2 separate regions of the Homo sapiens genome follow, and region 1 is linked to region 2. The links are contacts of gene promoters, found by promoter capture Hi-C in blood cells and fetal thymus (Javierre and others, 2016). All regions are on one chromosome and are shown on one strand. The core of a region is centred on a gene start or on the middle of the fragment in contact, and the rest is flanking DNA. Distances in the headings are between cores, read along the strand shown.

Region 1 (4,543 bases), core at 25-2,524, 360 kb before region 2:
CAGTCAATACTTCCTAAAGCATTCTTTAGTTTTTTTTTAGAATGCATTTTTTTCTTTTTGTGGGGGAGGGGTTCCAGTGAAAACTGGAAAACCTGCTAGACAAATTCTAAAAGAGCTGTAACACTTAGAATGCATTTTTAGAATACAGAATACATTCTTTTGACTTTCTTCAAAAACTTTTTTGTTTGTTTGTTTGTTTCGTTGTTTTTTGAGACACAGTTTCGCTCGTTGCCCAGGCTAGAGTGCAGTGGCGTGATCTTGGCTCACTGCTACCTCCACCTTCCGGTTTCAAGCGATTCTCCTACCTTAGCCTCCCAAGTAGCTGGGATTACAGGCAACCACCACCACACCTGGCTAATTTTTGTATTTTTAGTAGAGACGGGGTTTCAACATGTTGGCCAGGCTGGTCTCGAATTCCTGACCTCGTTATCCGCCCACCTTGGCTTCCCAAAGTGCTGGGATTACAGGTGTGAGCCACCGTGCCCAGTCTTTTCAATAACTTTTAATGGTTAGTAAATACAAAGTCCACAGGCAAATATTCAAAAGCCTCCACAATCAGGAGCAAGCTATGTTTCCAGCTCTTGCTCTTGGCCCAAGACCCTGGCCAACTATTTCCATAGGCCATTCCCAGGCTCCCATCTCCACACCTTTGCTTCCAGCCCTCTCAGCCTCCTCTCCATTGTGGCTCCACCTTCATCCAGCCCAGTCACCACTCAAAGCCCAGAGCAAATGCCATCTCTCCCTCTCTGCCTACCTGCTTAGGGAGCGACACTCTCCCAGTCCCCGGGCACCCTGTGCCTCCCACATGGTATCTCAGTCTGACACTGTCCAGATCTCCCCTCCTCGACCTATCCATCTGCTGCTGCTAAAGGCAGAGGCCACCTTATACATCTCTGTATCCCCAAGCTTCACATAGAAGACTCTAGGTCGAATTCTACAGCACTGGTTCCTATTTTGTTTTATAATGTGTTTAGATTTTCCTTCCTTTACTAGACGTAAGCTCCTAGAAGGAAGGAGATCCATTCCTAATTCATCTTTTATTTGTGATGGCACCTAGCACACTTCTTTGTACACAGTAGGCATGTAATAAATAGGTGCTGAATAAATCAATATTTTTTTTTCTCTAATACAGTCCCAAGTACCAGGAAACTGTGGTAAAAAGTTTGCTCTGCCCACAAAGATAAACAGATAACATCAAATGTTTACAGTACAGGAAGAAGAGGACTTCTCGTTACTTCTCAAGGACTTCATCTTCATAGAAAAGAAAAGTTCTATGGGACCGCCTGACTCCCTGGAGAGACCCCAGGTCAGAGAAGGCACATACCTGACATAGAGTGAAATGGGCACAACGGTGTTGAGGATGATGATGTAGGACCAGAAGGAGAGGAAGCCAGAGAAGAAGGCACTGTCCACTGCCTCATCCCACGGCAGGTAGACCTGGAAACGCATCCCCACCTCGTGCTCCCAGATGGCATTGCCAATGGCCAGGATCACCCCCATGCAAACCAGGAATCCAAAAATCTGGGGAGGAATGAGAAGCACAGGCGAGGCTGACATGTAGGAAGCCCTCAAAACCAAGTGCATCTGTGATGTATTCATCCCTTGAGCCCTCAAAAGCTCAGATGCTCTAGTGCAAGCTTGTCCAACCCATGGTCTCTGGGCCACATGTGGCCCAACACAGATTCATAAACTTTCTTAAAACACTATGAGATTTTGGTAACAGCTGAATGTTAAATGAAAAATAATTATAAAAAAAAAAAAAACTATTATGGGCTGGGCGCAGTGGCTCAAGCCTGTAATCCCAGCATTTTGGGAGGTTGAGGCGGATGGATCACCTGAGGTCAGGAGTTTGAGACCAGCCTGGCCAACACGGTGAAACCCCGTCTCTACTAAAAACATTAAAAAAATTAGCCAGTCCTGGTGGCACTTGCCTGTAGTCTCAGCTACTCAGGAGTCCAAGGCATGAGAATTGCTTGAACCCGGGAGGCAGACATTGCAGTGAGCCAAGATCATGCCACTGCATCCCAGCCTGGGCAACAGAGCAAGAACCTGTCTCAAAAAAAAAAAAAAAAAAGGCCAGGTGCAGTGACTCACACCTATAATCCCAGCACTTTGGGAGGCCAAGGCGGGCAGATCATGAGGTCAGGAGTTCGAGACCAGTCTGGCCAACATGGTGAAACCCCATCTCTCATCTCTACTAAAAATACAAAAAAATTAGCCGGGTGTGGTGGCGGGCACCTGTAATCCCAGCTACTAGGGAGGCTGAGGCAGGAGAATCACGTGAACCCGAGAGGCAGAGGTTGCAGTGAGCCGAGATAATGCCATTGCACTACACTCCAGCCTAGTGACAGAGTGAGACTCCGTCTCAAAAAAAAAAAAAAAAAATTTATGAGATTTTTTTTTGCAATTTTTTTTTTCTAAGCTTATCAGCTATTGTTAATGTTAGTGTATTTTATGTGTGGCCCAAGACAATTCTTCTTCCAATGTGGCCCAGGGATGCCAAAATATTGGACACCACTGCTCTAGTGGAAAAAGCTCAGAACTGGTGACAGGTTCTAGTCTGTCACCAATTATCATGTGGCCTTCTGTCTGACCATTATTTCATCTATATGATGAAGAAACTGAAATAGTTGATTAGCTCTCAATCTGGCACCTTGAAACCTTCCAGAGTCCTCAAAGTTGGTAAGAGTGGGGATGAGCTACTTTTAACATACCAGAAAACTTACTGTAAATAATCTATTCACCTGGGCTAGGTACAAGCCAACAAAAATGCCAAGCCACGGTAATGTTCACTATCTCACATAGATGGCCTTTTTTTTTTTTTTTTGAGATGGAGCCTTGCTCTGTCGCCCAGGCTGGAGTGCAGTGGCGCGACCTCGGCTCACTGCTGCAAGCTCCACCTCCCGGGTTCACGCCATTTTCCTGCCTCAACCTCCCAAGTAGCTGGGACTACAGGTGCCCGCCACCACGCCCAGCTATTTTTTTGTATTTTTAGTAGAGATGGGGTTTCACCATGTTGGTCAGGATGGTCTTGATCTCTTGACCTCGTGATCCACCCACCTCGGTCTCCCAAAGTGCTGGGATTACAGGCGTGAGCCACTGCACCTGGCTAAGATTGCCTTTTTTTTTTTTAAACTTGGGAAACAAACTTATCTTCATAAACGTAGATTTCTTTTTTGAAACAGGGTCTTGCTTTGTTGCCCAGGCTGGAGTGCAGTGGCATGATCCTAGCTCAACGCAGCCTCAATCTCCCAGGCCAAGCAATCCCCCCGCCTCAGCCTCCAGAGTAACTGGGACCACAGGTGCATGCCACCAAACCTGGCTAATTTTTCAGTTTTTTGTAAAGACAGGGTCTCACTATGGTGTCCAGGCTGTTTTCGAACTCCTAGGCTCAAATGATCCTCCCACCTTGGTCTCCCAAAGTGCTGGGATTACAGGTGTGAGCCACCACTCCTGGTCTAGATTTCCTGATTAGTCAAAAATCTTATAAATTTTGGAGTCTCTGGAGAGACTGGTAAAAAACCAGGCCACTGTCCAATTTCCTACATCTATTTCCAAAGCTGCCTCCGCTGTTTAGGCTTTGAAACAAAATAGGAGATTGGTGCCCAATGGCCACCAGGGGGCGACTGGAGCCCTTATGTGATAGACAACCTCGCCCACCAGGCTGGGTTTCCGCACACTCTTTAAAGCCAGGGCGGAAACAAGCTCACCAGAGGCTAGCCCCAGCCTTCACAAGCTGGCATGTGGCGGGCAGGCAGCAGACAGTCGGGGCACAGGAAGGGGAGGAGAGCCCAACAAGGAGTTCAGATTTCTAGCTAAACAAGAGAAGGATTCAGGAACTGCCAAAAACTTAAACAGAAACTTTTCCTTTGGGATCCTTCGTTCTTAGAAGTTGGGGGGAAAAGACCCTGCCAACCTCTTCCAAATGGAAATTTTTCTTTTAATTCCCTCTCCATCCCCATGAAGGCCTCCTTGTCCCTGGCAAAAGCAAACAGAAGGTCACATGCTTCACAAAGTCATCATCATAACTGGAATCAGAGAAGGGATGATTTGTTTTAGCTTTAAGTTGTTGATTCATGCACGTTCCTGAAGTTTTTTTAAATAACATCTTCCAACTAAAAGGAGCCTAAAATAAACACTGCCTTTGTGTAGCTGACCTGCTAGCAGCTTTAAAGCCAAACCTGAAGTCTACTGACCAAAGAAGAAAGAGGAAAGGAAAAGGAGCACCCAAGGAGAAGAGAGGGCAGGGGCAGGGAGCCAGATGTGGGGCGCCTCACCCAGAGCACCAGGGTATTCATTAGGCGATCGATACTCGTTCTTTTGAACTTTGTTCTGCCGCTGTTTTGCATCAGCTTAGTGTCGGGACCTGGAAAAGAATGGGAAGGGCTGGGAAAGCCAAATAACACATCTGCCTCTGGGCTTCTGCCCTGATCCCCAGACTGCAGGACACCAGGGTGGAATAGAGATACTGGCTAGATAAGAAGCCTGTATACACAGCTGGAGGTTTTTTACCTTAGGTATTCTCCCACCTCATCCCATACTC
Region 2 (5,115 bases), core at 1,247-3,746:
AAAAATACAAAAAAAATTAGCTGGGCATGGTGGTGGGTGCCTGTAATACCAGCTACTTGGGAGGCTGAGGGAGGAGAATCGCTTGAACCTAGGAGGCAGAGGTTACTGTGAGCAGAGTTCGCACCATTACACTCCAGCCTGGAGACAGAGCGAAACTCCATCTCAAAAAAAAAAAAAAAATTCAGGCTTGATGCACAGCATCCTTAAGTATATATATATTATATTATATTATATATTACAATGTATAATTATATATATTATATATTAAATATATAGGAAATATATAATATATATAACATGTATATGTTTATAAACATATAACATATTATATATAATATATAATTATATATTATACATATATATTAAATATATATTATAATTATATATTTAATATATAATATATTATGTTTAATATATAATTATATATAATTATATTATGTTTAATATATAATATATAATACATATTTTAATACATAATATATATATATCCCCCTTTCACCATACATAATATTTTTTACACAGCAAAATGTAATAACTTGATAAATGTAAGTATCCAAGCATTGATGAGGTAATGATAAACCTTATTTGTGGCTTATGCTTAAGTTCTTTTTTTTTTCTTTTGAGATGAATTCTTGCTCTTGTTGCCCAGGCTGGAGTACAATGGTGTGATCTCGGCTCACCGCAACCTCTACCTCCCGGGTTCAAGTGATTCTCCTGCCTCAGCCTCACGAGTACCTGGGATTACAGGCATATGGCACCATGCCCAGCTAATTCTGTATTTTTAGTGGAGACGGGGTTTCTCCATGTTGGTCAGGCTGGTCTTGAACTCCCGACCTCAGGTGATCCGCCCACCTCGGCCTCCCAAATTGCTGGGATTACAGGCGTGAGCCACTGCGCCCAGCTGTGTTTGAGTTCTGTAGTAAACTGTCCGGTAGGTTTAATTTGCTCAAGCGATGAGGAAAAGACTTGCACTTTGTGCCTCCTGGGAAAGAGACTAACGTCTTCAACATACCTTATGGCAGATATTTAATTTCAGAGTAGAGACCCCACTCTGATGCCTGGTAAGGTTATTGGAAGTGAAATATCACAAGATCTTACAGTTTGTTGTGAGATAAGGTAGGATTTGGTGAGGAGTAACAAATACTAGCAGATTTCGGCCCAAACTTCAATTATAGCTAAACATTACTGGAAAAAACCCCACAACCTACTTTATGTAACATATAACTACTCACACACATACACAAAAATAATACACACACAATTTCAGCAAACACAAATAATAATTTAAAGAAACAAATTCAAAATTAGAGCCAGGTATGGTGGCACATGCCTGAAATCCCAGCTACTTGGGAGGATCCCTGAAGACGAGAAGTTCCAGGCTGTAATGCGCTATGATGGCTCCTGTGACTTGCCACTGCACTCCAGTCTGGCAACATAGCCAGAGTCCATCTCGTTCAAAAACAAAAACAAACAAACAAAAAACGGCGAAATGAAGGCTCAGCCCTCATCAGGTTTAGGTGACAGAGCTAGACCCTGTCTAAGAAAAAAAATAAAATTAAATGAAAATTCGTTATCAGACAGTAAAGCATGAACCCACAGTGCTGGTCAAGTCACTGCAGATCTGAGTGTGTATCAAGGTTTAACTCCATAAGATGAAAAGCAGGCAATGAATCTTTGGCCTGGGTGTTGACAGTCTAGGCTCAAGCCTCAGCTTTCCCACTCATTAGCTTGCTGACCTTGGACAAGTCACTTATATTCTCTGAACTTACTCATGAAACGGAGATACATTTCATCTGCCTCTCGCAAGAAAAAGTCCTGGTAAATACACATTAGCATTTCCGTTTTACACAGAACACTGACAGATACTTTCCTAAGATCATGGAGTTAATAACCACCAGAACCTAGACTCAATACTTATGGAACTTCAAATCTCATGCTTTTCTCATTGCACTTATGATTACTCCATTATGTAGGAGCAAGGGAGAGTTGAGAGCATTTGAAGAGGTTATGCAAAGGACCAGCTCTGAGGAGTAGGCTTAGCAAAGTAACATGAGGGAAGGTAACACCGTTCATCTGTGTAGCGGAGTGGGAGCCAAGAGACAAGGAGAAAGTTTCATGTTCGTCATGTGTCTCGGATATTCCGGTTTCTGCAGGGACGAGAACGCGCAGTTTCGCCTCCATCCCTTGACCTCCAACACAGCTTCTCCACTGGATCATCGGTGGCGATGAAGGGGCGGCTGGGGAAGGATGTCAGAGAAACCAGAAGCTTGACGGTGAATCCTCGGGTTTTAAGGAGAGAGCAAAGTCCTGAGAGGGCGACGTATTGTCCCTGCTCACCTAGCCCAGAATGAACAAACACGCGCCAGCCAGGGAGCAGCGAGCCGAGAATTCGGACGAGCCTCTGCAACCGCCATTTGCCGTTCTCGCAAAGACTACCAAGACCACAATGCAACGGGGCGCCGAGCTAATTCCCAGTGAGCAGCAGGCGAGGCGCCACCGACGCGGAAGACTATAAGCCCCAGCGGGCGACGACCGAACGCCCCCGGGAACACCGGGCCCCGAGCTCGGTCCCGCGCCCGAGGATCCTCCACGGGGCTAGATGGCTGCGTCGGGGGCGGGAGCGGAGGTGAGCGGGCGCTAGGGCCGCGAGCCCCCGCCGGCCCTTCCTCCAGCGCCCTGCGGACCCCGCAGAAGGCGCTCGCCTCCCTAGCCCGCAAAAACATATCGATTTTTCTCGCTGTGGCAACGGGGACGTCCTGATAGATCCTCTGCTCCAATAGGCAACTCCGGCCTTCCCTGCCCTGACCTGGAACCTCTGGGAGGGCTGCAGAGTAAGTGCCGCCTCTGCGCTCCGACGGAGGCACGAGGCCTGTGGAGTAGGTCCCTCTGTTCCGACAGGTGCGACACTTGGCGCTCCATGCTTGCGGGTGCCGGGAGGCCTGGCCTCCCCCAGGGCCGCCACCTCTGCTGGTTGCTCTGTGCTTTCACCTTAAAGCTCTGGTAAGGAGGAGGTAAGGGGAGGGAAAAGGAGGTCACTGGAGGACAGGATCGTTCCCGGCCTCGGGGCTGGGGGAGATCTTATCCATGGACAGCGCAGGAGGGGGTGCCCTATTTTCTGGGTTTTGACTTTTGTCCCTTCCCCCAACTCCGCTACAGCCAAGCAGAGGCTCCCGTGCAGGAAGAGAAGCTGTCAGGTGGGTGATTGTCTGGGAACCCGACACGTCCCGTCGTTTGTTTTTGGTTTTAGTATCTTCCCCATATACCAAGAGCACAGGTGGAAAAGGCCGGCACCACATGGAATGAGGGCAAGCGCTGTGCCGGGAAGTTGGATGGGCAGAGCCTGGGAGAAATGTTTTCTGAATGGCCTGGGGCTGGCATTTATCTTTCCTTTCAGCAAGCACCTCAAATTTGCCATGCTGGCTGGTGGAAGAGTTTGTGGTAGCAGAAGAGTGCTCTCCATGCTCTAATTTCCGGGCTGTGAGTATCTATTTCTCTACCCTTTTTTTTTTTAAACATCTAAGCAAACACTTAAGCAACATCTTAACATCCAAGTCTTATTAAGCTGCCTTTGCATCATCTTTTTTTCTTTCTTCTTGCAGTCTCAGTGTATGTCCAAATCTGTACTTGTCTTTCCCCTGAAAATGTGCCCCTTTCTTTCCAAGCTAATGGCAGTATTCAACTGATAACTATGGTTTTTTTGTTTGTTTTTGAGACGGAGTCTCACTCTGTTGCCCAGGCTGGAGTGCAGTGGCGAGATCTCGGCTCACCACAACCTCCGCCTCCCGGGTTCAAGCGATTCTCCTGCCTCAGCCTCCTGAGTAGCTGTGACTAAAGGCGCGTTGCACCATGCCTGGCTAATTTTTGTATTTTTAGTAGACTCGGGTTTCACTGTGTTGGCCAGGCTAGTCTCTAACTCCTTACCTCGTGATCTGCCCGCCTCGGCCTCCCAAAGTGCTGGGATTATAGGCGTGAGCCGCCACACCCGGCCTCAAATAACTATGTTTTATTCACTTTTAGTATAGTAGGCTCTGGAATGGAATGTATCTTTGCCACTCCTAGACTGTTGCCCCTGAAGTGTTCTAACATACATTCGTAATCATGCAACCACCACCTCCACCATCCGCATCAGAACTCTTTCATTAGCTCTCTGTTGCCTACCACTCCAAACCATAGCAGTTGGGCACCTGCACCTTCTGAATGGCAGCCTTTTTGTTTATCCTGTTGCCCCTTCCTAACATGTACTTTGCTCCTTTTCTCCTGGCAGAAAACTACCCCTGAGTGTGGTCCCACAGGATATGTAGAGAAAATCACATGCAGCTCATCTAAGAGAAATGAGTTCAAAAGGTGAGTGCTGTTTCTCTTCTCTGAGATCACCTCCTTTGCTCCTATGACTTTAGATGGATGGTCCCACCTTTTCCCCTGGTCTGGGGGTAGCATGGAATATCTGAAAGAAGAGGGGGCCGGGCTCACACCTATAATCCCAGTACTTAGGGAGGCTGAGGCTAACAGATCACCTGAGGTCAGGAGTTCGAGATCAGCCTGGCCAACGTGGTGAAACCCCATCTCTACTAAAAATACAAAAATTAGCTGGTGTGGTGGGTGCCCATAATCCCAGCTACTTGGGAGGCTGAGGCAGGGAGAATCACTTGAACCCAGGAGGCAGAGGTTAGAGTGAGCCAAGATCATGCCACTGCACTCCAGCCTGGGCAATGGAGCGAGACTGTGTGTCAAAAAAAAAAAAAAAAAAAAGAGGCTGGGAGGGGTGGCTCACGCCTGTAATCCCAGCACTTTGGGAGGCCGAGGCGGGTGGATCACGAGGTTAGGAGTTCAAGACCAGCCTGGCCAAGATGGTGAAACCTCATCTCTCTTAAAGATACAAAAATTAGCTGGGCATGATGGCGGGCACCTGTAATCCCAGCTACTTGGGAGGCTGAAGCAGAAAACTGCTTAAACCCGGGAGGTGGAGGTTGCAGTGAGCCAAGGTCACGCCACTGCACTCCAGTCTGGGTGACAGAGCGAGACACCATCTCAAAAATAATAAGAAAGAAGACGGGATTTGGAGCCAAATTACTTGAACCCAAGTCCCAGCTCTACTCCTCAGCACTATGTTATTGG

Evidence for each region. The method cuts DNA at HindIII sites, captures the fragments that hold promoters and counts their contacts. A CHiCAGO score of 5 or more calls a contact.
Region 1: a fragment that was not itself captured here is called in contact with the fragment with the promoter of JTB in region 2 in 1 of 17 cell types (total CD8 T cells); the score reaches 5.3 in total CD8 T cells.

What each region holds. Positions count from the first base shown.
Region 1 is chr1:154,334,326-154,338,868 of GRCh38, reverse strand. It overlaps ATP8B2 (ATPase phospholipid transporting 8B2), which reads right to left. Exons shown (of 28, transcript NM_001370597.1): 11 at 4,278-4,366; 12 at 1,325-1,521. It also overlaps the pseudogene RNU7-57P. Among named protein-coding and RNA genes, the nearest start is that of ATP8B2, 11 kb to the right of the region's middle. The HindIII fragment of the contact is 731 bases long and covers 909-1,639 here.
Region 2 is chr1:153,975,055-153,980,169 of GRCh38, reverse strand. It overlaps JTB (jumping translocation breakpoint), which reads left to right and starts at 2,496. Exons shown (of 5, transcript NM_006694.4): 1 at 2,496-3,000; 2 at 3,157-3,194; 3 at 3,395-3,477; 4 at 4,265-4,344. The coding sequence starts at 2,918. It overlaps JTB-DT (JTB divergent transcript), which reads right to left and starts at 2,427. Exons shown (of 1, transcript NR_186180.1): 1 at 1,010-2,427. RefSeq lists silencers at 2,023-2,317, 2,606-2,655 and enhancers at 2,326-2,375, 2,377-3,025, 3,675-4,324. The HindIII fragment of the contact is 8,938 bases long and covers 2,269-5,115 here.